Linked DNA regions of Homo sapiens: regions 2, 3, 4, 5, 6 and 7 are each linked to region 1. The links are contacts of gene promoters, found by promoter capture Hi-C in blood cells and fetal thymus (Javierre and others, 2016). All regions are on one chromosome and are shown on one strand. Each heading gives the region's core, a stretch centred on a gene start or on the middle of the fragment in contact. The rest is flanking DNA. Distances are from core to core; before and after follow the strand shown. Region 1 holds the start of FAM168B (family with sequence similarity 168 member B). Region 2 overlaps DARS1 (aspartyl-tRNA synthetase 1). Region 3 has its middle 4.7 kb from the start of MCM6. Region 4 overlaps UBXN4 (UBX domain protein 4). Region 5 has its middle 4.6 kb from the start of UBXN4. Region 6 has its middle 13 kb from the start of GYPC. Region 7 holds the start of ZRANB3 (zinc finger RANBP2-type containing 3).

What was found. The method cuts DNA at HindIII sites, captures the fragments that hold promoters and counts their contacts. A CHiCAGO score of 5 or more calls a contact.
Region 2: a contact is called between a fragment that was not itself captured here and the fragment with the promoter of FAM168B in region 1, in 2 of 17 cell types (fetal thymus and M2 macrophages). The highest score is 9.8, in fetal thymus.
Region 3: a contact is called between a fragment that was not itself captured here and the fragment with the promoter of FAM168B in region 1, in 1 of 17 cell types (fetal thymus). The highest score is 7.5, in fetal thymus.
Region 4: a contact is called between a fragment that was not itself captured here and the fragment with the promoter of FAM168B in region 1, in 2 of 17 cell types (total CD4 T cells and total B cells). The highest score is 9.4, in total CD4 T cells.
Region 5: a fragment that was not itself captured here is called in contact with the fragment with the promoter of FAM168B in region 1 in 9 of 17 cell types (total B cells, neutrophils, naive B cells and 6 more); the score reaches 23.9 in total B cells.
Region 6: a contact is called between a fragment that was not itself captured here and the fragment with the promoter of FAM168B in region 1, in 1 of 17 cell types (total B cells). The highest score is 9.7, in total B cells.
Region 7: a contact is called between the fragment with the promoter of ZRANB3 here and the fragment with the promoter of FAM168B in region 1, in 10 of 17 cell types (total B cells, naive CD4 T cells, non-activated CD4 T cells and 7 more). The highest score is 32.5, in total B cells.

Annotation. Positions count from the first base shown.
Region 1 is chr2:131,091,881-131,095,428 of GRCh38, forward strand. It overlaps FAM168B (family with sequence similarity 168 member B), which reads right to left and starts at 1,580. Exons shown (of 7, transcript NM_001009993.4): 1 at 1,334-1,580. RefSeq lists a silencer at 1,034-1,753. The HindIII fragment of the contact is 2,381 bases long and covers 650-3,030 here.
Region 2 is chr2:135,981,916-135,985,463 of GRCh38, forward strand. It overlaps DARS1 (aspartyl-tRNA synthetase 1), which reads right to left. Exons shown (of 16, transcript NM_001349.4): 1 at 3,488-3,548; 2 at 1,482-1,539. DARS1-AS1 (DARS1 antisense RNA 1) reads left to right here and starts at 3,261. Exons shown (of 4, transcript NR_110199.1): 1 at 3,261-3,548. RefSeq lists a silencer at 3,348-3,407 and an enhancer at 3,458-3,548. The HindIII fragment of the contact is 526 bases long and covers 1,452-1,977 here.
Region 3 is chr2:135,879,364-135,882,911 of GRCh38, forward strand. No RefSeq gene overlaps it. Among named protein-coding and RNA genes, the nearest start is that of MCM6, 4.7 kb to the left of the region's middle. The HindIII fragment of the contact is 3,748 bases long and covers 5-3,548 here.
Region 4 is chr2:135,756,065-135,759,612 of GRCh38, forward strand. The region is part of intron 5 of UBXN4 (UBX domain protein 4); the gene reads left to right. Among named protein-coding and RNA genes, the nearest start is that of UBXN4, 16 kb to the left of the region's middle. The HindIII fragment of the contact is 2,986 bases long and covers 270-3,255 here.
Region 5 is chr2:135,735,431-135,738,978 of GRCh38, forward strand. No RefSeq gene overlaps it. Among named protein-coding and RNA genes, the nearest start is that of UBXN4, 4.6 kb to the right of the region's middle. The HindIII fragment of the contact is 983 bases long and covers 1,513-2,495 here.
Region 6 is chr2:126,641,651-126,645,198 of GRCh38, forward strand. No RefSeq gene overlaps it. Among named protein-coding and RNA genes, the nearest start is that of GYPC, 13 kb to the right of the region's middle. RefSeq lists enhancers at 3,066-3,115, 3,196-3,295 and a cis regulatory region at 3,471-3,548. The HindIII fragment of the contact is 1,205 bases long and covers 1,207-2,411 here.
Region 7 is chr2:135,529,537-135,533,084 of GRCh38, forward strand. It overlaps ZRANB3 (zinc finger RANBP2-type containing 3), which reads right to left and starts at 1,682. Exons shown (of 21, transcript NM_032143.4): 1 at 1,591-1,682. R3HDM1 (R3H domain containing 1) reads left to right here and starts at 1,948. Exons shown (of 27, transcript NM_001378107.1): 1 at 1,948-2,097. RefSeq lists enhancers at 995-1,074, 1,425-1,694, 1,663-1,957 and a silencer at 1,925-2,114. The HindIII fragment of the contact is 14,144 bases long and covers 1-1,835 here.

The sequences.
Region 1 (3,548 bases), core at 330-2,829:
GCACTTTGGAAGGTCGAGGCGGGCGGATCACGAGGTCAGGAGATTGGGACCATCCTGGCTAACACGGTGAAACCTCGTCTCTACTAAAAAAAAAAAAAAACAAATACAAAAAAATTAGCCAGGCGTGGTGGCGGGCGCCTGCAGTCCCAGCTACTTGGGAGGCTGAGGCAAAAGACTGACGTGAATCCGGGAGGCGGAGCTTGCAGTGAGCCGAGATGGCGCCACTGCACTCCAGTCTGGGAAACAGAGGGAGACTCCGTCTCAAAAAAAAAAAAAAAAGTGCTCAATTGATCCAGGAAAAGAAACTGTCTAAGACAACTTGGGTATAATTTCCCTTTAAACTACGGAACTCCACCAAAGTAAGCCTGCTTTGTAAAGACAAAGAGAAGCAAGATCTTCACAATTTCTGCAACACTAGCTTCAAAATTAGAATAGCCTTACACTGCTCAAATCTTGGCTGTCAAAGCAAAAATAACCCACTCCTTCATCTACAAGAGCTTAAAAATGTGTCCTGTTTTTGCCAAAACCAAAAAGTTTTATTTAATCTAGAATCTTTCATCCATAGTATTTGAGAAAAGTGATCTCAAATTACACAAGGATGACCTGAAAGTTTAAGGAGTGGAAACTATATAAACCTTTTTATTTATAAAGCTTCCTTGCATGCGAAAACACTGCAAAATATTCTTGTTTGACTTTAATGATTAAACATTAACTCAAACAGCCCATGAGATGCACACTTCATGTTCACATACACTATAAAACAGAAATACCCTTATTTGTGGACGTCGTAAAGGCGCACTGCACTCTTTTTTCAAAGTTAACCCAGGCTAGGCCACGAAACGTCCTTTCTGAAGGAAATCTTAAAAATCTGTAATTTAAATCGTGCCTTTTCAAGCTGGAAGGAGAACGCTCAGATTCCGCCAAGCAAAAAAATAAAAATAAAAATTATCTTTACTTCGTGGGTAGACAAAGTGAGCAGTTACACATTGGAAATGACTATTGTCACAAAGCTCTGCCCCCGGGTTTCACGCTCGCATTCCTGACGGCTGTGACCCCGACCTTTAGGAGAACGCCCCGCGCCGCGAAGCCACCTCGGCCACCTAGGCGGCAGGCCCGCGCCGCCCGGACCGCACCTGCACGCGTACGTGTCCGGCCGAGCTCCGCCCCCGGCCCCCGCCCGGCCTTGCCCGCGGCACAAAGCGCAGCCCAGGCCGGTCCAGACGCCCAGCGACCCCGAGCCGCGGGCCGACCTTGGCGCCGCCCCGAGCCGGCCGCACAAAGCGCCGCACTTCCGGCCTGGACGCGCAGTCGCCCGCTGCCCGCCCCCACTCACCGCGCCGCGGCGGCGACCTGGGCCTCAGTGACCAGCGCACGCCGGCCCGCGGCGGGCTTGGCCGTGGGGCGAAACAAGGGGGGCGTGCCGAGGAGACCTGCTACGATAAGAGGCTGACCCTCCGAGCCCCGCGTCTCCGCCGCCTCCCGGACGCCGCGCTCCCGCTCGCTCGGCTCCGCTTGGCCCGGCCCGCCTCTCCGCAGCCCGCGCTCCCCGCCGACGCTGCGCAGCCACCGGAGCCGCCGACCTCACTTCCGCCTGAGCGCGCCGCGACGGGGGCGCGCCGGGCACGTGACTGCGCAGCGTGCTCGCTCCCGCCGGCGCCCTCGAGACGCCCGGATGGACGAGCGCGAGCGCGAGCGCGGAGTGGGCCGGTCCCAGTTGGCGAAAGGGCCGGGTGTAGCTGTAGTTTTTTTATTAACTGTCTGTGAAAAAAGTATTTAATTTATATTTTGAGATAGTCCCGCGCCGCAGAAACCTTTGTGTGTGCCCAGACGCCAGGGCGCGGATCCTCAGGCCGCACCCGGGAGTCGAGCACACCCCGGGTGACCGCCACTACGGGGTCGGAGCGGGGCGGAGCTCAGCTCACAGATTCTTTGCCAGTGCGGAGGCTGCGGGCGCCCGCTCAGGAGTGCAGATTTTAGAGAATGCAAGTCAGCGTTTCAAGTGTAGAAGTGCGGGATCATTTCTATAGACAAGAGTTCAGGGAAGTGTACTAGAATGTTAGGGGGTTTTTTGGTTTTTTTTTGAGACGGAGTTTCGCTCTTGTCACCCAGGCTGGAGTACAATGGCGCGATCTTGGCTCACTGCAACCTCCGCTTCCCGGGTTCAAGCGATTCTCCTGCCTCAGCCTCCTGAGTAATTGAGATTCCAGGCGCCCGCCACCACACCTGGCTAATTTTTGTGTTAGTAGAGACGGGGGTTTCACCATGTTGGTCAGGCTAGTCTCGAACCCGTGACCTCAGGTGATCCACCCACGTTGGCCTCCCAAAGTGCTGGGATTACAAGTGTGAGCCACCGCACCCGGCCAAATGTTAGTATTTTTATGTAAGGCTTAGTGTATAGTTACAATGATTTGGTTAGTTCAGGGTGTCTCTCTGGGGGAGGTATGTTTATTATTTCGTATTAAAGAGGTGCGTGTCTTGGTGTTTGTGTTTGGGGTGTCGTCTGGTCTGAGCTAGGTACAGGACGACAAAGGAGGGAGTTATTGCAATAAAGATTAGTGATGGAAGGGAGGAGGCCTGGCTCTGGTCTTTTTTCAGTCGTTTATGAAATAAAAACAGATGGGCGCGGTGTCTCACGCCTTTAATCCCGGCACTTATAGGAGGCCGAGGCGGGCAGATCACGAGGTCAGGAGTTCAAGACCAGCCTGGCCAACATAGTGAAACCGCGTCTCTACTAAAAATACAAAAATTAGCTGCGCGTGGTGGCGCACATCTGTAACCTTAGCTGCTCTGGAGGCTGAGGCAGGAGAATCTCTTGAACCCGGGAGGCGGAGGTTGCAGTGAGCCGAGATCGGGCCACTGCACTCCAGCCTGGGCGACAGAGGAAGACTCCGTCTCAAAAAAAAAAATAAAAATAAAATATAAATGTGATAAAAGGACAAGAAGAAAACATGGGGAAATTCCTTTTTAGTATTGGAGTAAAGAAGGCTTTTCTACATTATTACTTGAAATCCAGAAGTCATGACTATGAAAAGCTTTGGTCGGCAAAAAGCACCATAAGCAAAGTCAAAAGATAAATGATTAACAAGGAAGAAATAGTCCCAACACATGTAATAGACAAAGCTAATCTCTTTAATATTCCAAAAGCTTCCAGAAGTCAACAATAAAAAGCCCTACCACCCAATAGAAAAAGGAGAGTTCACAGCAAAGGACTAAGTCTGGCTGTTAGTCATATGAAAAATATCCAATCTCACTTCTATAAAGAAAAATGCAAGTTAAAACTCTTTGAGGTAGCAGTTTTCACTGTGATTGGCAAACATCCAAAAAATTGACAATGCTATTGGTAAGGCTGCCAGGAAGCTCGCACTCTCAGACATTGCTGGATGGGAAAGGGGATCGTCTGATGATGTGTGTCAAAATAAACGCACAAACAATGTTTCATTCAACAGCTGCACTTCTGGGAGTTTGCCTACAGAGATACTTATAGATGTGTGAAATAAAATGAGTTCACACCTATTAATTGCAGCATTGTGCATAGTAGCAAAATACTG
Region 2 (3,548 bases), core at 465-2,964, 4.9 Mb after region 1:
CTCAGTCTCTGAATTTTGGTCTTTTATTGTATTCTTTCCCAACAAGCCTGGGAAAGAAAAGTGATTTTGTGATCATGTGGCAAATCAAATATAACAATAAAATTAACCTAGAGGTGTTTTATTTCCAAAGCATAATATTCATAGGCAGCCCTCTAAACTGGAAGCAGTGCTTCCAATGGGCAAGAATGTAAACGTCTACAATTACTGCACCAAAGAGTGAGAGACGTAATTTGAAGTGTCTACCAAAAGAAAAATTACTGTCAAATAGTTAAGTAAGACAAATCTGTTGAAATTACATATATAGAATAGAAGTAAAAGAAAGGCAAACATTTATAAATAAAAAATCTACAGGTCTGAGAGAAACAACATGAGTCAGGTCAATTTCAAAGAAATATAAGGCCGGGTGCGGTGGCTCACACCTGTAATCCTAGCACTTTGGGAGGCCGAGGTGGGTGGATTGCCTTGAGTTCAGGAGTTCGAGATCAGCCTGGGCAACACAGTGAAACCCCATCTCTACTAAAATACAAAAAAAAAGTGAGGCGTGGCGGTGTGCGCCTGTAGTCCCAGCTGCTCAGGAGGCTGAGGCAGGAGAATTGTAGGAACTTGGGAGGCGGAAGTTGAAGTGAGCCGAGATCATGCCACTGCACTCCAGCCTGGGCGACAGAGCGAGCCTCTGTCTCCCAAAAAAAAAAAAAAGAAATATAAAGATGCCAACATACACTAACAAAAAAGAGCGGTTATAAGAAAAGATAGACTGGGGTCTAAGAATAATTCATTTCATTCCCAGACACTAAAGCTACGAGTAAACAAAATGGAGTGGGGGTGGAGGCTTTAAAACTCAAATCATAGTACTGCCAAAGAAGCCAGAGAAGATGTAAGATGGAAGGACCCATGGACTCTAGGGTCAGATGGCCTTTGGTTCTAATCCCAAGTCTGGCAGACTCTGTGTAAGTCAAGTTTCTTATCTTTCAACTTTGGTTCCTTAGTTTTCAAGGATGCTGTAGAGAATAAGTGAAAATATAAATGTTTGGGAAGAGTCAAGCAAAATAGGAATAAATAATAGCTAAAAACAGTCAGAGAAGTAAAGTTGTGGGGGTTGGGGGAAGTAAAAGAGGTAGCTTTATTAAAGCATGCAAAAAGGCTACATGTGATGAAGGCAGTTATTAGCCACTCTCCTATCTCCTAGACAACGGTTGAATCTTACCTAATAATTTAGGAATATTTAAAAAATATAATCTACCATTTAAAACATACCATTTAACCTACAATACCTAATAACATTTTTTTTCCTTTTCTAGAGTTGGAACCCTAAACTGACAATGTTTACACAGGGTTATGACATCTACTTGGATTATTAATGTCATTTAAGCTTTTCAGAATTATACCTTCAGATTTATGCCAACCTTACTTAAAATTTCATTTAGAGCTTTCCTGGAATTAGAAAGCAAAAAAGCTTTATTTACTGTCACATAGCTACTAACCTGGTTTTTCTTGTGATTGTATCATTGAAGATATTCCATATCTCTCTTTAGCATAATCCTACAAAAAAAGTTTTTTGCATCGTGACTTTTTATGTAAACACTAAGAGCACAGTAAACACATAAATACTAATAATAGAATATAAAAATGAATTTAACTTTCAGGATCATTTTATTAATTCAGAAAGTCAGTAGTTTCATAATGTGGAAATCTCTCATTCATTTACATATGTACTCTACAGAAAACAGAAAAGTACTGTTTCTGGTTAGTTTGTTTTGAAGATCACCACTCCTAGATGGATTTACCATACTTAATAACATTCTCAGATAAAATTTACACATATGTACAACACATCTTAACTACCTTCTTCAAAAAGATGAAACTACTTCAAAGCAGGGACATAAATTTCCTCTGTGAAGGGAGTAGGATGAAGTACCACAGTTTTATTAACTTCCTATTACAGGAAGAAATGTTCAAAGAGAACCAACGTTTTGGGTAAGCTTTCTGAGCACCAGATGTCCACAGTTTTTAGAAACTGGAGATGCTGGGTATAAGCTAACTACAACTTTCCTTTTGTAAAACATCATCAAAAAATTCACCAGCTTCCTGTTTCTAAAAACCAGATTCAGGATACCAGGTTACAGGAGTTTGACACTGACAATATAATAATATCAAATTTCTTGTTACAGATTAGAGTTAGGAACAGGAAACAGAAGACCTAGGGTCCAATCTGTTAACAAAATATACTTATTAAATAGATAAGTGGCCTTTATTTCAATCTTACTTTACCTCTAAAATGATCTAAGATTCTTCTAGCTATAAAATGGCATAACTCTGCCACAATGTCTACCTTGTATCTAGACCTATACTATCTGTAAGGGTACACTGATAGTTTATGTAATTAAGCAGATTAAGAGTACACAAAAATAATTGCCCTAGTTTTTACAAGGTAACTTAAGATCTGTATGAAACAATTAAGTTTCTGTCACTTTACAGCTACCTGTTGGAATCCTCTCCTTTAGAGCAGGAGGGTGCTGGATTTTGTGTTTACACCAAAATAAAACCAGACATGTTTAAGGCGCTTACTGAACAATTTAAAGAAAAAGATAACCCTGGCCAGAGTAGAGAGATACAGTCACACAATGAAGCCTGAGGGCAACAGAAGGAGATTAAATTGTGTGAAGGACAAAAAAGTTGCATTCATAATTAGTACTATTAATATTTCAGTGACTCTTCCTCATTTAGTATTCTAAGATGACCTTACTTCTCATGTTGCTTACCACAAACTCAGAACTCCTTATAGAAAAATTAGGGAGCCAGACGGAAATTAAGGCTTAACAGTACTACAGCACACATAACTTGTAGGATGGTTTCAAACTTTGATTTCTGAAAAGCACCGAAGGATCACTGGGTGTTATGAATTATCCACGTGATTTGGGGTCACTTCACCTCAAATGCATTCTCGGTAACTCCTATTACCTACCTTACCGGGTCACTGAGAGGGAGAAAGTAAATAAAAATGACATGTGTTCTTTAAAGCTGTCACATGGGAAATGGTCATTAAACATATTGGCAGATGGTTTTGCTAAGTACTGTCATTACTTGCTAAAGCATTAGGAACACGAGGGCTGAGTACATATCGATTACTAGTGCTTATTAAAATTTTCCCAGGGATTGTGCATTACGTGCAGGACGTGCCTAACCCAGAGAGACTCAAGTGTGACGCCGCGCTCCTACTTCCGGGGCGGCTGGTTCTTCCCGTCCTCCCCACCCCGGGGACACGCTTCTAGTAGGCCAAACTCCCAGGTGACCCCCGCAAGAAACGCGGTCCGGAGAGGGTCTGGCCCCACTGCTGGGGCAAGGGCTCTAGGCGCCCGGACCCCACGCCCGCAGCCTGCGGAGAACGTGCCGACAAGGACCTGTAGGGCCCCACTCCCCCTCCTCCCTCCCTCGGCGCAGCCCGGCCCAGGGGTCTGTCCTCCCAGGCCCAGGAAAGGAGGAAACCCACTTCCGCCGCGTCCATGATCTCCCGCGGCTTCTCCTGACTCTTGCGGCTGGCGCTGGCGCTG
Region 3 (3,548 bases), core at 629-3,128, 4.8 Mb after region 1:
AGGAAGCTTGAACTCAACAGTGCTTCCTGGATATTCACAACCCGATTGAGCTAACCTGATTCTATTCCATCCTCTCAAAAGGCCTCACTCTTTTCTTTCTCATTTTTCTTCTTCTCCCTTCTCTTCCTCTTCTATCCTCAGGATAGATTTCTCAGAACTAAAGTCCCATGTACAGAAGGAAAAAAACAAAAATGATAGTGCAGAGCTCCGGGCTGATTTTCAGCTATGCTCATTGAGAAACTCAAGGCTTCCTCTTCTCAGCTCTCCATATCTCACAGGTGTTCCCTTCCTCCTTCAGACATGTATCTCTGAATCAGAATAGTAGATGATGTCTGTAAGTGAGGTTTGTAGGGATAACTTCCACAACAGGAGGAGGGTATGAATTATGAAATATCTCTGTCACACCCCAGAAAGTTGTATGCTATGTGTGTGCACTGGTGCCCAGGCCTGCTTGCTATCCTTAGAAAGTCCTGTTCACAAGATTGGCCTTTGGCTGGCATTGGGAACTTGACTGGTAAATAATTCTCTACATCGATATAACACTATCCCTTGATAATGATGGCTCATTGTACCTAAACTGTACAATGTGATTTATGCTGAATACCTGGAAGTCTAAAATTTTTTTTTTTTTTTTTTTAAAGACAGGGTCTTGCTGTGTCACTCAGGCGGGAGTGCAGTGACACAATCACGGCTCATTGCAGCCTCGACTTCTTGGGATCAAGCGATCCTCCTGCCTCAGCCTTCCAAGTAGGTACATGCCACCACGCCTGGCTAATTTTTGTATTTTTTGTAGAGACGAGGTTTGGCTGTGTTGCCCAGGCTGGCCTCGAACTCCTGGGCTCAAGCGATCCTCTTGCCTTGGCCTCCCAAAGTGCTGGGATCACAGGTGTGAGCCACCACACTGGGGCCTTTTTTTTTTTTTTTTTTGAGACAGGGTCTTGCTGTGTCACCCAGGCTGGAGTGCAGTGACACAATCATGGCTCACTGCAGCCATGACCTCCTGGGCTCAAGTGATCCTCCCACGTCAGCCTCCCACGATGTGCACCACCATGCCTGGCTAATTTTTATATTTTTTGAAGAGACAAGATTTCCTCATGTCACCCAGGTCAGTCTTGAACTCCTGGGTTTGGGCAATCCTCCCAAAGTACTGGGATTACAGGTGTGAGACACCATGCCCAGCCATCCATGATTCTTTTTAAAAAATTATTTTAGAATAGCTTTGGATTTACCAAAAGTTGCAAAAGATAGTACAGAATTTTCAAATACACCTTGCCTATTTTCCTTTACTGTGAATATCTTACACTCTTATAATACATTTATTACAACTCAGGAACCAACTTTAGTATGTTAGTATTAACTAATATTGCACAATTTATTCAGATTTCACCAGTTTTTCCCTACTGTTCTTTTTCTCTTCCCAGATCTCATCCTGATGCCACATTACACTTAGTGGTCATGTCTTCTTAGACTCTTCTGGTTTGTAACAGCTTCTCAGACTTTCCATAGTTTTAATGCCAATGTCTCTCAGTTGGGATTTGTCTAACGTTTTTCTCATGATTAGACAGTGATTATGGGTTAGGGAAGGATGATCACAGAGGTAAAGTATACGGTTTCTTACCATTACCTTATGATTTTGAAGCAAAACATTGTATCTTTTCATTTGTAGATATTTCAGAATGATTTTCTAAAACATAAGGGTTCTTTTTCCTGAGACATGTTTTTAGCTGGGAAGGAAACATCCTTCAAACAGCTGTAGCAGTGCAGGTTAGTGATGCTTATTATTTTAAATATAACTGTAATATTTTCCAGAATCACTGACACTTCAACTTACACTAAATAAAACCAGCAGATTAAAAAGTTACATGATTTGTTGTGGGTGGTGTGCAATATTCAATAAGATATTTCTCATATTATGAAATATTTTCTTTCAATGCAGTCAACCCTCATCTTATAAAATATTTGGTATATTTTACTTCTTTTTTATTTATTTATTTAATTTTTTGAGACAGCATCTCACTCTGTCACCCAGGCTGGAGTGCAGTGGCACAATCACAGCTCACTGCAGCCTTAACCTCCTGGGCTCAGGTGATCCTCCCACCTCAGCCTCACAAGTAGCTGGGACTACAGGTGTGCACCACCATACTCAGCTAATTTTTGTATTTTTTGCAGAGATGGGGTTTCACCATGTTGCCCAGACTGGTCTCAAACTCCTGGGCTCAAGCTATACTCTTGCCTCAGCCTCCCAAAGTGCTGGGATTATAGGCATGAGCCATTGTGCCCAGCCCGTTCTACTTCTTATTAACAACAACAACAACAAATGTATGCTAGCTGCTAACCAGTTTTTAGCAGTATGACTTTCTTCCTAATTACTTAAATAAGCAAAGTTTGATCTTGATATCTAACAAAATAAGTTCAACTATGATGTCTAACAAAATAAGTTCAAATAATGGCAATTTTTAGTTATTTTTATATGATTCTTAGTTTTTCCAAAAGCTGAACACCAGAATTCCATACACACACACACACACACACACACACACACACACACACACACACAGAGTTAATTTTATGTGCCAACTTGAGTGGGTCATGGGCTGCCCAGATTAAATATTATTTCTGCTTGTGTCTTTGAGGGGTTTCTGGAGGAGATTAGCATTTGAATAGACAGAATCTGTATAATAGATTGGCCTGCCCAGTGTGGGTGGGCACCATCCAGTCAGTTAAGGGCCTGAATGGAACAAAAGACAGAGGAAAGAGGAGTTTGCCCTCTTTTCCCTGCCTTACTGCCTGAACTGGGACATCTTGTCTCATCGTATGCCTTCAGATAAGATTTACACCGTTGTCTCCCCTGGTTTTCAGCCCTTCAGGTTGAGACTGAACTACCTACCAGCTTTCCTGGGTTTCCAGCTTGCAGATGCCAGCTCATAGGATTTCCCAGTCTCCTAATTGCATGAGCCAGTTCCTCATAATAAATCTGCCCCCCCCCCCCTCCTATTAGTTCTGCTCTCTGGAGAACCTGGCTAATACACTCACTTTTAACTTTCATATACTCCTCAATTCATAATAACCTATCATTTTAAATATACTTTACATTATATTATAAATTAAGAAATATGAAGCTGCATACAAATTTACTCTTGTTTTATAGCTACCATAAAATGCTTTTATGTCCCCCTTAAGATCCTCCCAGGTTCACTTGTCTGTCATTCAGCTCCATATGGGCTCTGAGTCGCTCATTGATGACTCTTGCCCTCTGTGGCTCTCAGGCTTCTCCGTCGTCCCCACTGAGTAACAGGCTCATGCCTCTCAGAAGCACCTTGAAGGAGAGAGGGGTTAAGGCCCTGGAGAATCCTTGACATTGGTCAAAGACATGAGTCAGTGATTAAATTTCTTCTCTTTAACCAATCCTCTGCAGATGGATATTTAGGTTAGGTTAGGTTAGGTTAGGTTAGGTTATTTGCTCTCTGCTCCTCCGTTAGAAATAACAGTACAATTAGCATCTTTGCATGCATGTATTTCTGGAGGTTAAGTTTCTGGAAGAGCTAGTC
Region 4 (3,548 bases), core at 513-3,012, 4.7 Mb after region 1:
GCTATATAAATTTAAGAGAATAGTGTTATATATATTTTTTTTGATTAGAGGTAAAAGATAATTATGAAATAGAGCTTGTAGAAGTAAGAGGTGTGACTGTAAACTCATTGATAGAAAAGGCAAAAGAGAAATTTTTGGGATTGTGGTTGGAGTTGTTTGGTGTAATATAGCTTTGTATTAGGCAACCGAGGGGTAAATAAATCAAGATGTTAGGATATTAGTGTCCTAAAAGATGAATCTACTCCAGCATCCCACACAAATAATCATCAAGCTTCTATTTGAATGCATTCAATGATGGGAAGCTCATTACCTTGCTAGGAAGCCTGTTCTGTTGTTGAACAGCTCTAGTTTTTAGAAAGAGTCTTCCTTATATTGAGCTGAAATTTGATGCCCCATAACTTCCTGTTAACATTAATGCTGCCTTGTGGAGTTACACATGACAGGTTTTGAATATTTGAAATACAGCTATTTGTCTCATTTTGAGGTTTTACATCGGATGGATCATTCAACTTCTGGATGTGTACGGAACGGGGGGACTCTATTATGGATGTTCATTTAGGTCTACGACAGAATAATTACTTTAATTGTATTTACCTGGATATATATCATTTCCAAAATTCTTCATTCCATTTTGAAGATAGACACATGTTTCCCTCTGGTATAATATTCTTTCAGCCTGAAAATTTTCCTTTAGCATTACTTATTGTACAGGTCTGGAGTTTTCTTTATGTGAAATGACTTTGTTTTATCTTCATTCTGGAAGGATATTTTTGCTGGATATAAAAATTTTTGTTTACAGTTACAGGTATTGTCCACCGTCTTCTGGTCTTCATAGTGTTCTAATGAGAAGTCTCCACAAATTCTGATTGTTCCCCCCTGTAAGGAGTATGTTGCTTTTCTCTGGCTGCTTTCAGGATTTCTTTCTTTCTTTGGTTTTTAGCAATTTGACTGTGATATGCCTAAGTGTATTTTTCTTTGTATTTATCCTGTGTTTGGTTTGCCTAGTTTCTTACATCTGTAAATGTGTGACTTTCACCAAGTTTGGGAATTTTGGTCCATATATCTTGCTGGAATGAATTACATGTATATTAGGCTTCATGGTATTGTCCCACAGGTTTATTTTTTCACACTTATTTTTTCTTCTTTGGATTGGATAATTCTGTTGATCTGCAAGTTCACTGACTCTTTATCATCTCCATTCTGATGTTAAGCCCATCCAGTGAATTTTTTATTTTAGATAAAATTATGTTATACATTTTTTAGTTGTAGGATTTCTATTTCTTTCTCTCTTATTATAACTTTTTATTTTGAAATAGTTTGACTCATAAGTTACAGAAGTTGTGCAGAATGAGTACTCTTCATCTACGTTTTATTCTTTTAATTCATTTCAAGTGTATTTCCCTTTTCCTCATTTGAGTTATAATGGCTGCTTTAAAGTCTTTGTCTGACAGTTTCAATATCTAGCTCATCTGAGGATTGGCTTGTGTTGATCACCTTTACCCTTTAGAATGGGTCACATTTTCTTGTTTGTTCATATGTCAAAAAATGCTGGATTGTATCTTGTACATTGTTGTAGACACTCTGGATTTCATTATATTCCTGCAAAGAGTGTTGTTTTTGTTTTAGTAGACAATTAACTTGGCTAGACTAAAACTGCAAGCTCTGGCTTACCTGAGGTGAGTAGCAGCTCTAATCTCAGTTTTTTTTTAGCTTAAAAAAAATTTTTTTTTTTTTTTGGTCAGGTGTGGTTGTTCACACCTATAATCCCAGCACTTTGAGAGGCCAAGGTGGGCAGATTGCTTAAGCCCAGGAGTTTGAGACCCGCCTGGACAACACGGCAAAACTCTGTCTCTACAAAAATGTGTCTGCAGGGTCTGGCTCTGTCACCCAGGCTGGAGTGCAGTGGCACAAACATAGCTCACTATAATCTCCAACTCCTGGCCCACGTGATCTCCTGCTTCAGCCACCTGAGTAGCTAGGACTACAGGTGTGCACCACCACACCTGGCTAATTTTTTTTTTTTTTTTGAGATGGAATTTTGGTCTTGTTGCCCAAGCTGGAGTGCAATGGCACAATCTTGGCTCACCACAACCTCCATCTCCTAGGTTCAAGCGATTCTCCTGCCTCAGCCTGCTGAGTAGCTGGGATTACAGGCATGCGCCACCATGCCTGGCTAATTTTGTATTTTTAGTAGGGACGGGGTTTCTCCATGTTGATCAGGCTGGTCTCAATCTCCTGACCTCAGGTGATCTGCTTGCCTTGGCCTCCCAAAGTGCTGGGATTATAGGTATGAGCCACCACGCCCAGCCTAATTTTTTAATTATATTCTTTGCAGAGATGGGGTCTCACTATGTTGCTTAGGCTGTCTCAAACTCCTGTCCTCCAGTAATCCTCCTGCCTTGCCCTCTGAAAGTGCTGGGATTACAGGCATGAGTCATTGGATCCAGGCCTGTAGCTTTTTAAAACTATTTATTATGGAAAATTTCAAACATACATAGAAGTAGAAAAAAATAGTATAAGAAAACCCCATTAATCCATTGCCTAGCTTCATGGCCAATATTCTCATCTGTGCCCTCCACTCCTCTTCTTTTTCAACTTATTTAGAACAAATCTCAGGTAAAATATTTCAATATGTATCTCTAAAATATAAGAAAGGAATATAAATCTTTTAAGATTATATATAGTTGCCTTTTAAAATAATTTTTTTTTTTTGAGACAGAGTCTCACTTTGTTGGCCAGGCTGCAGTGCAGTGGCGTGATCTCGGCTCACTGCAACCTCCACTTCCCAGGTTCAAGTGATTCTCCTGTCTCAGCCTCCCGAGTAGCTGGGACTACAGGCGTGCACCACCATGCCCGGCTAATTTTTGTATTTTTAGTAGAGACGGGGTTTCACCATGTTGGCCAGGCTGGCCTCGAACTCCTGACCTCAGGTGATACGCCTGCCTCAGCTCCCAAAGTGCTGGGATTGTAGGCGTAAGCCACTGCGCCCAGCCAAAATAAATTTTAATTATGGAAATTTGCAAGCATATTCTAAAGTAGAGAGAACAGAATAACGAACTCGAGGTACTCATCATCCTGCGTCAGTGATTCCCATTATTTGCTCGGTTTTTGTTATCTGTCTCCCTATATGACCACCCTTCCAGGTTATTTTGAAGCAAATCTCAGGCATTTGTATGATTTCATCTTTTAAAATATCAATATCTAAAAGATAAGAAATTTTTAAAAATAACAACAATACTATTATCAAAGCCAGAAAGCTTAATAGTAATCCTTTTTGTCATCAATTATCTAGGCAATATTTATATTATACTTTTTTTCAGTTTGAGTTACAGTTCGATATATTGCTATTGGTTGATGTGTTTTTAAATTTAATATATAGATTTCTGCTCTCCCTGGTAGTTTTTCCTATAGTTTTCCACAGTCTGGATTTTACTGCATCCCCATGGAATTGTGTAAGATGTTCCTCTATCCCCTTTATTCCTCTAAATTGGTAAAGCTACAGACTTGATCAAGTCAGCTTCATTATTCTTTTTGACAAGACTACTTTG
Region 5 (3,548 bases), core at 754-3,253, 4.6 Mb after region 1:
CTCAAGAATCTTTTCCATAATCTCTGACTGCTTTCCCTCCCAGAAAGCATAACGTTTTGTTATTTTATTTTATTTTATTTTTTGAGACAGAGTCTCGCTCTGTCGCCCAGGCTGGAGTGCAGTGGCGGGATCTCAGCCCACTATAGCCTCCTCCTCCTGAGTTCAAGCGATTCTCTTCCCTCAGTCTCCCGAGTAGCTGGGATTACAGACGTGTGCCACCATGCCTGGCTAATTTTTGTAATTTTAGTAGAGATGGGGTTTCACAATGTTGGCCAGGCTGTTCTCGAACTCCTGACCTCAAGTGATCTGCCAGCCTCGGCCTCCCAAAGCGCTGGGATTACAGTTGTGAGCCACCGTGTCTGGCCACGTTTTATTTATATTTATTTATTTGTTTATTTATTATTTATTTTGAGACGGAGTTTCGCTCTTGTCACCCAGGCTGGAGTGCAATAATGCGATCTCAGCTCACTGCAACCTCCTCCTCCCGGGTTCAAGTGATTCTCCTGCCTCAGCCTCCTGAGTAGTTGGAACTGTAGGCGCCCATCAACACGCCTAGCTAATTTTTGTATTTTTAGTAGAGACAGGGTTTTGCCATGTTGGCCAGGCTGGTCTTGAACTCCTACCTCAGGTGATCCACCTGCCTCGGCCTCCCAAAGTGCTGGGATTACAGGCATAAGCCACCACGCCCAGCCAGCATTTTAAAACTCCATATTGCTGACCTGTTTCCTGCCCACTCTGAGCCCTCCAGGCCATTGCCTCCCCTGTACCATTTTATTTGTTTGTTTTTTTCTCCTTTCTGCATTTCTTTCCCTCCCCAACTTATTTATTTATTTATTTATTTATTTATTTATTTATTTATTTATTTATTTATTTTTGAGACCAAGTCTCACTCTGTTGCCTAGGCTGGAGTGCGGGGTGTGATCTCAGCTCACTGTAACCTCCGCCTCCTGGACTCAAGTGATTCTCATGCTTCAGCCTCCCGAGTAGCTGGGACTATAGGCATGAGCCACCACGCCTGGCTAATTTCTATATTTTTTGTAGAAACGGGGTTTCATCATGTTTGCCAGGCTGGCCTTCAACTCCTGACCTCAGGTGATCCACCTGTCTCAGCCTCCCAAAGTGAGCCACGGCGCCCATCCCCCAACCAATTTAGATTCCATGTTCCATCACATTGTTTGTTCCATTGCTAATCTCCTAAACTTCTTTTTCATTTGTTCTTTCTCCCACTGCCTAGCACCTAAAACCCTGGATAAATCCAAGTCTCCACTTTCTCCACGCCTGCCCTCAGGGATTAAGTGACCGCTGAAGAAAATTACACAATTGGGCAAATTCAAGACCACCAATTTCACAGTCCCTTCTGCACTGTCTGGCACACTGTGTTTCCCTAGTCCACTTGCCCTCCAACACTCAACACTACTTCAAACCTTGTTTCCTTGTACTCAAGGCGTCAATTTCCTTACTTCCCCCCTTACTCTCAGCAAATAACCTCTCCTTCAAGGAAAAAAAAGCTAAAGCTTTCACGTAAAATCTTCCTCAAATTATTGTTTTGAAATGTATAAACATATTTATGTCTGTTTTTTTAAATAAACTTATTTATATCTGAAGTTATTTTTTCAGCCAGGTGTGGTGACTCACGCCAGTAATCCCAGCACTTTGGGAGGCTGAAGTGGGTGGAATGCTTGAGCTCAAGAGTTTGAGACCAGCCTGGGCAACATGGTGAGACCCTGTCTCTACTAAAAATACAAAACAAAACAAAACAACAACAACAACAACAAAAATACATAAGTTATTTTTTCTTTCCTCTGTCTGTTAAAATGGGAAGGGTATCTCTTCTATCTGCCTGTATTCTAGATCCCACCCCAGATTGTTTAGAATGGTGGTAATTACAAGAAGCAAGATCCAACTTCCAGTAGCCTAACTAGTGAGGACAGTTACTATCTCACAAAACAAGACATATGGAGGCTGAGTAGTCCCAGGGTTGGTTCAGGAGCTCTGTGAGGTCATCATAGACACAAGTGCTTTCTAGATTCCCTTCTGCCATTCTTAGAGCATAAGCAATGTCTTTCCTCATGGCCACAAGATGGCTGCAGCAGTACCTGGCATCATTTGCATATAACCACATCCAGCAAAGGAAGATTGTGCCTTCTTTTTTTCCTTTTTCTTTGAGACGGAGTCTCACTCTGTCGCTCAGGCTGGAGTGCCATGGTGTGAGCATGGCTCATTGCAACTTCAACCTCCTGGGCTCAAGCAATCCTTCCACCTTAGCCTCCTGAGGACTACAGGCACACACCACCACACCCGGCTAATTTTTTCTTTTTTTATTTTTGTTTTTGTTTTTTGTTTTTTGTAGAGGCACTCTTACTATGTTGCCCAGGCTGGTCTAGAACTCTTGGCCTCAAGCAATCCTTTCATCTCAGCCTCCCAACATGTTGGGATTATAGGCATGAGCCACTGCGCCCAATCTGTGCTTTCTTCTATGTGTCTTTTATTAAGAAAGCTTTTCCTGGAAGTAGCCCCTCCCACCCCCCTACCCTTCCTACAAGGTTTTACTGGCTTCAAGGGGAGGTTGAAAAGCCCAGTATCTGGCAGGTTGCTTTGTTGTTGTTGTTGTTTGAGACAGGGCCTCACTCTGTAGCCCAGGCTGGAGTGCAGTGACGCAATCTCTGCTCACTGCAACCTCCGCCTCCCGGGTTCAAGCGATTCTCATGCCTCAGCCTCCCAAGTAGCTGGGATTACAGGTGCATGCCACCATGGCTGGCTAATTTTTGTATTTTTAGTAGAGATGGGGTTTCACCATGTTGGCCAGGCTGGTCTCAAACTCCTGACCTCAAGTGATCTGTCTGCCTCAGTCTCCCAATGTGCTGGGATTACAGGAGTGAGCTACTGCACCCAGCAGTTTTGCCTCTCAGTAGAAAGTGAATTCTGTCAGGAAGGAATAATAGAAGGCATGGTAGAAGAATGACTGCTGGATCGGCCATCAACAGAATGTGCTGTATACCCCATTTTCCCTCCCATCTCCAGAGGGGCCTTCCATTTTCCCATTTGTTCAATCTAAGACCAGTTCCTTTCCACTAGCATTTAATTTTATGCAAATCTCTCCCATCTTTAAAAAGGCTGTCTTTTCAAATCCAAATTCCTGTCCAGCTAATGTTCCTTTCTTCCTTCTCACCTTCACACTCACTGACTCTTTACCTCCCCTTACTTTTCAACCTTTTGCCATCTGGCTTCTGTACACAAGAACCATGAGAATTGCTCTTGCTAAGCTTAAAATGACCTCTGTGTTACTAAAAACAATGGACATTTTTTAGTCTCTCATCTTAATTGACCCAACAGCAGCATTCCACACCACTGCTTCTCCTTTCTTAAAATTCTCTCTACCCTTGGCTTCTTTGATATCACACACTCTCCCATTTTCTTCCACCACCCCACACTCTGCCTTTCCTGCTGAGTCTCTTTTACTGGTTTATACTTTTTAATACAACCCTATAAACGTTGGAGGCCCTAAGACCTCAATCATGCTCGTGTCTCACCTCACTTTGCACCATCTC
Region 6 (3,548 bases), core at 559-3,058, 4.5 Mb before region 1:
CTCCAGCCTGGGTGATAAAGCGAGACTCTGTCTCAAAAATAAATAAATAAAATAAAGCTGGAGCAAGAGAGAGAATGGGAAGGTGCCACACACTTCTAAAGAATGAGATCTTAGGATAACTCACTCACTATCTTGAGAACAGTACCAAGAGCAATGGTACTAAACCCATGAGAAACCCACCCAATAATCCTATCACCTGTCCCCAGGCCCCACGTCTAACATTGGGGATTATGTTTCAATATGAGATGTGGGCAAGGCATACATCCAAACTACATCAGGAGGCATTCACTTCCCACACTAGTGGCTTTCTTACAGTTTCTTAGAGACATCCACACTTTTTTGTCCCTGTGGATAAACTTTTGTGGCCTGCCTGACATTTTGTACCCAGAAGTGGGGAAGTGGGGAGGATATACATGCTCCTACTGCAAGCAGAGACCTTCAACCCTTGTCTTCATCCCTAGTTCAGACCCCCACCCTCCAACCAGCCATCTCTGAGCCCAGACCCCTGTGGCTCTGGCAGTCTAAGACCCCCGCACCCCGCACGCACACACACCCTTCCTCTGGGCTTCCTTTGGGCTGCAGTCCCCAGCTCTCTGTTGCCTCCCCCTCAGCACACTCCCACACCCCATCCAGCAGCCAGGAATTCCCAAAATCTCACAGGTGGCTGGAGGAACCCCTGTGCAGCTCGCAAGCTTATTTCTTCCAGTATTCCTTTATACAATTGGAATGGGCTCCCCAGAGGGAGAGAGTACAAAACATGCTAAATCTATGAACTTGAGCCAAATACTCAAAGGAACTTATAAATGAGAAAAAAACAGTTAAGAAATAAACAGTCACCCATATCCCATGGCCTTGGTATGACCATTCCTACCTGTGGGTGGAAGTAGTTATATCTGGATGTGGTCATGGCACAGCTAATCCACGCATGTGTGTTTATTTCACATGGTATTTTCTAGTTTTTTCTATAGCGTTATGAAGCCTTTGTCTTTATCATCATTAATGAAGCTGCAAACCTCCCAGGAGAGCCTGCCTCAACCCTCCAGAGCACGTCAGACACAGATGTCATTAACCTACGTGGGGGCAAAGTCACTAAGCAAAGCGGTAGGTGGCGAACCAGGAACGAGAGGCCACATCTGCCACATTCTAAATCCTGCTCTGTCCTTGCTTGTGAGACCATTCTGGAAATTTAATGAGGTTACCTAGCAAAGCTTATAGCAAAATTGTGGCAAACATCATTACCATTCTGTTCCCACTTCTTGGTAGCTGTTGGGGCTCAGAAAATAATACCCCAAGGTGTGGTGCTTGGACGCACTGAGTGCTTTGAACTAAGGAGCAGTCTCAGAACCAAGGTCTCTCTGACTCTCCCCCTGCCCCCTGTCTCTGGATCCTATTTCTCTCCCAAAGCACGTGGAGGGGCTTTCTCTGAAGTTTTCCTTGGGAAGTTTCTCCAAAAGAAATTCAATTGTCATGAATCCCCTCCCTGGTATCTACATTAACAAAAGAAGGTGAATTCTTACTGCAGAGAAAGAAACTAAGTCTCCACACCCAGGATACCATGTCCAGACGACTATCCAGGACACCATGCCCAGACAGACTTTTCACCTATTCTTCACAGGGCTAGATTCTGAGAGACCCCATCTGCATAATTCCCAAATTCCTGTCTCCTGTTGGCCAAAAAGAGAAAAAGCCACAACAAAAGGCCTAAGGAGGAGCTGCTTTCATCCCTTAGTGGGCTCCAGAGCTCAGCAGGGAGCAGCTCGAGATGCAATGTGTTAGTTCAGTGTCATACCAACAAATTATACCCAAAGGGAAAAGGGCTGGGACCCAAACAAGGCTTCCTGAAAGTTGGTAACTCACTCCCTCATTGTTGGAAGTTTTTAACTGAACCTCTTTCGGCAGCTCCCTGCCTCCTCTCCTTGTGTCTCAGGTGTCCAGCATGAATCACCCCCATGCAGCTGTGCCGTGGCACCAGGAGTCCATGGGGACATGGGGATGTGGGAGGTGGGAAGGGAGCCCAAGGAGAGTGAGCTGGCAGCACTGCCATGGCAGGGCTTTAGAGGGCGACAGCCCTGGTTGGAATTCCAGCTCAGGCACCGAGCCGCTGTGCGAGAGTCACTCCTCTGGTCCTCAGCTTCTGTCAAATGAAGAGTGAACAGGAAAATAAACAAAAACAAAGCACCACCTGTTGTGACAATTAGCTGTGACAGTTAATAATACTCATATGCTCAGGAAATGGGTCCTATAATCCTGTGCCTGCTGCCATGCATTTTTAGGGAAAAATACACACTTCCTGGAGCATCTGAACCACCCAGGTTGCCTATGTGTTGCCTCCTTTTTTCACTGACTTGCTAGAAATTCAAGCTCCTCCTCACGTTTCTCTGGGCTCTTTCTTTTTTCTCCCCTCAGTCTGAAGCTTCCCAACTTTTCTCAACCCCAGTCCATAGACATCGGCTTTTAGAGTGCACACCAGCAGTTGAGGCTGGCCTATGCATCGCCTCAGCCCACCCCAGACCACCCAGTGTTCCCATTGAGTTTTTATGCTCTTCCTGTTCTCTTAGAGATGCCCATTAGGAAGCTTCCAGAAGGGGGCCATTCTGGATGCTGAAAGATCTACCCTTGAATGAGGTGCTGCTGTAAGTCAGGGGAGTAGACTACAGCTCCCACAGCCTCACACAATGCTTGGGTGCTGTTGGGGCTCAGAAATCAATACCTCAAAATATGGCCCTTTGACATGCTGAACTGAAGAATCCTCAAAGTCTGTCTGGCTTTCCCCTTTCTCAGCTCCCCACCAACACCTCCTGGGTGTTAATCCTCTGTCTCTCCCAAAGCCCAGGATGAAGTTGTTCTCTGAAGTTCCCTAATCTGTCTAAAGTCTGGACCTTCCTAAGAAGAAAACATGATCCCTGGTCCCTTCCCTGGGCTTTCATTAACTGAACTCACATGTCAGGAAGAAAGTCTGAAGTCTGTCAACGCACCTGGGCAGACTTTTGTCACAAACCATGGTCTGTTCTTTAGGCACAACAGTTTGTCACAAGCCATTGTATGTTCTTCAAGCCCATTGAATTTCCCTAAAAGTCACTTATTACTCTCCTAAAATTACCCAAACTTCCTAATATGGTTTGGATTTGTGTCCCCACCCAAATCACATGTCGAATTGTAATCCCAGTGTTGGATGAGTGCCCTGGTGGGAGGTGACTGAATCACAGAGGTGGACCTCCCCCTTGCTGTTCTTGTGATAGAGTTCTCAGGAGTTCTCGTTGTTTAAAAGTGTGTAGCACCTCCCCTTTCTCTCTCTTCCTCCTTCTTCAGTCATGTAAGACAGGCCTGCTTCCCTTTCTGCCATGATTGTAAGCCCCAGCCATGCTTCCTGTACAGGCTGCAGAACTGAGAGTCAATGAAGCCTCTTTTCTTTATAAATGCTCCAGTCTCAGGTAGTTCTTTATAGCAATGTGAGAATGGACTAATACACTTCCCCATTTCTCCTTCTCCTAAGAAGAAGGATATAGAAGTACCCCATTGGTTAATTGGGTAATTATTCTACAATGCTC
Region 7 (3,548 bases), core at 432-2,931, 4.4 Mb after region 1:
TGTCACCCGAGGCTGGAGTGCAGTGGCGCGATCTCGGGTCACTGTAACCACTTCCGAAGTTGAAGCGATTCTCCTGCCTCAGCCTCCCGTGTAGCTGGGACTACAGATCCTACAGATCTCTGCCACCACGTCCGGCTAATGTGTGTGTGTGAGTTTTTAGCAGACACAAGATTTCACCATGTTGCCCAGGCTGGTCTCGAACTCCTGACCTCAAGTAATCCTCCCGCCTCGGCCTCCCAAAGTGCTAGGATTACAGGTCTGAGCCACCGCGCCTGTCTGCCACTCGTTTAATAAATGGTCGTTACTCAAAGAGTGGTGATGGGGCCACTCTTGATTATCAATCCTTCAAACAGAAAAGCCCTTTTCTGTGACTCTTTTCCTTCCAAGCTGACTTTAGAAGTGTGTTTGTGGCCGGGCGCGGTGGCTCACGCCTGTAATCCCAGCACTTTGGGAGGCCAAGGTGGGCGGATCACGAGGTCAGGAGATCGAGACCATCCTGGCCAACATGGTGAAACCCCGTCTCTACTAAAAATACAAAAAATTAGCTGGGCTGAGTGGCGCGCGCCTGTAATCCCAGCTACTCCGGAGGCTGAGACAGGAGAATGGCGTGAATCAGTGAGCCAAGATCCCACCACTGCACTCCAGCCTGGGGACAGAGCAAGACTCCGTCTCAAAAAAAAAAAAAAAAAGTGTGTCTGTAAATGTAGTTCAGAACTTCGGAGCCCTGTCTTTACAGTTCAAACTGACCACGCGAAGACTAAAGGCAGTAGAGGTACTTTCTACAAATTTAGCCGTGCAATCTAATAGCGAGCAGGCCGAGACGCCCGCGATTGAAGGCCGGGGTGGAGAAAGTAATAAGGGCCCTGGAAATTACCCCCATCCCATGTCACCCACTCTTTCTTAAAATGCCATTAAATTCCGTTCAACTTTTTATCTCCCATGCAAGAAACTAGCGACTTGCCAGCCACGCCACTTCCAGCCAGTCACACCTGGCGTATTCGCCGCAGAATCTCCAACTCCCGCCACAGGTTTGGGACGTGTCCGCCCCTAAGCGGAAGTGACGTTCAACGGGACAACGTGAAAGTAGATGAGTTTAAATACGTACTAATAATTTAAAACCCCTATGGTATTTTGAGGAAACTCTTCCGGCTACCCTTCTTCCATCACTTCTCTCCCGTTAGGGTTGCGAAAAGGGCTCTGTACAGCCTCGCGACAACTCGTTCTCCGCCCTAATTTCAAGTCATTCAAAACTCTGTCCCTTTTCATTGGCTGAAGCGGCGGCATGGGTACCTCTCAGGAACTACAATTCCAGCCAAGCACCGCGACAAGTGAACGGAGGAGAAGTTATGAGTAGGGGAAAAGCATGTTGGGAATCGTAGTCCGCTCCAGGCCGAAAAGAGCAATCACCCCGCCCTCCGCCACTGAAGCTGGAGAAACCAGGTGTTCGTTTCAGAACCCGTTAGCGCTAAGGGGAGGAGCCAACCCCTTAAGCAGCATGCCTCACTTCGCCCCACATGGAGGATAATTTTCCTTTACCCCTAAAAAGCACTATAAATACCCACTGAGGAGATCTGGTTGTCTTTTAAATACCTCGAGTCAGTAAAAACTCACGAAACTCCGCACCTCAGGCTCCAACTCGTGGGAAAAGGTAGCTCTTTTACAAGTGGGCAAAATGGCTGTCCTCCTAGTTTTACCATTGGTTGGCTTTTGCGTCCTTCAAGGGCGGTTACTTACCACGGATTGGTTCTTTTTCTCTTGAGGTTGGAGGAAGATTTGGCACGGCTCTCCGCGGCCTGGGAGGAGGTAAAGGGGTGGAGAGAAGACAGTTTTTTTCAAGCTTGATTGGGCAAAACTCATGTCACTCCGGGGACGTACAACCTATGAATAGTCGGCTGCCGCTCAAAGAGAACGAAGAGGCGGGGCTAGTGCGTGGTGGGAAGGGGCGGGATTCTGCCAGCCGCGGCTGCCGCTGGAGCCGGTGTCCGGGCTGGTGATGGGGTTAATTCCCTTTCGTAAGACTCTTACTTGCACCCACCCAGCCCCGCCGTCGCCCCGCCGCGCCGCGCTCCAACCGCCTCCTCCTCCTCAGTAACGCGGGTAAGAGATGCCCTTCCCTCCCCCGTCCAGCTCCCCGGGAATAACGCGCCTTGCTCCCCTCCCCCGCCCGCCAACCGGTAGCGCTAACGGAGAAGGAGGCAGGCAGGGGAGAGATGTGGTGTGTGGAAAGGTGGCCTTCCCCGCCGGGTCGTCGGCGCTTCAGCCAGGGCCTTCTGACGTCCCGCTGCTGCCAGCCCGCCGTTAGGTCGGGTTCCGAGTGAGCCAGGCTCGCCTGGCCCGCGGCTGCGGCTCCGGCTGCAGCTGCAGCCACTGCCTTGTGCCCACCGCCCCCACCCGGGGGCCATGTGAAAAGCAAACCCCTCGAGGCCTAGCGGAGGAGGCAGGGGAAAGGTTTCCGAGTCCCTGCCATGGCTGCTGCTGCTGCCTCCGCGGCTGCTCTTGCAGCCCCAGGGACTCGGGAGCCAGCCACAGCAGGCCTGCCAAGAGCGTGGTACTGCTCTCTCGTGTGGCTGGCGCCGGTGCCCCGGGCTCCCCCGGCCGCCCCACGGCCGCATCCCCTGGCCTTGCACCAAGAGAATTTTCAGCTTCGACCGGTTGGTAAAATGTAGGTACATTTTCCCTGTGGTACCAGAAAAAGCACAATGGGAATATTAAAAAGAAAGTTGAATGACTGTCAGTGCCACGGTCCCCCGGGATCAGATTTACACACGTTTTGATTCCTGAGCCTTAGGCTGCCAACAAATCTTTGTGGGCTTTGAAGTTTTTTGGTGTTTTGTTTTCTTTTGTTGCTGTGACTAGGTGCAAAGGGTGACTCTGTTGAGCTTGTTTTTATAAAGAAACTTAAATTATTGGGACTATCATGCTCCGTGTGTAATTGTCCTGGGATAGTTAAGTAAAAGGTGAAGAAGAGGTGCTTTCCAAATTAGGATTAGTGAACAGCAAATGGTTTTTCTAATAAAATTTTCTAAATATATATATATATATCTTCATGGTTATAGTTTACCTAATTGTAACTGTAAGAAACCTTTTTTAGCTTAAATATCATTGATGACAAAAACTTTTAAATGAAAAGATGATTAAAGTCAAACTGAAAGTCTACCCATTTATAATATGTGAAACAAGATCTTCTAAGTAATAGGATACCAGTCTGACAGGAATAATTGGACACGTCTCAATTTCTAAAAATTTGGCATATTTGGCTATTTTTAGGGCATTCTGTTATGATTTCTTCATCACATTTTGATGGAGTACGCTCGTCTTTTCAAATACCACTCTGCTTTTATGCCTGGAAGAATATGTCTTTAAATCATGGATTCTATAGTCTGTAGTAGACATAACTGTGATCAGAGATAAAATTCTAGGCCCATTTCTGAGGTTTACTTGTTAGCAGAATAAACTTGGGTTCTGAGGAAACATCTGAGTTTTGATCATTTCTTCAGGGTTTGAGAAGACTATGGTGGCTTAATGATCTTCTGTATTCCATAACTAGT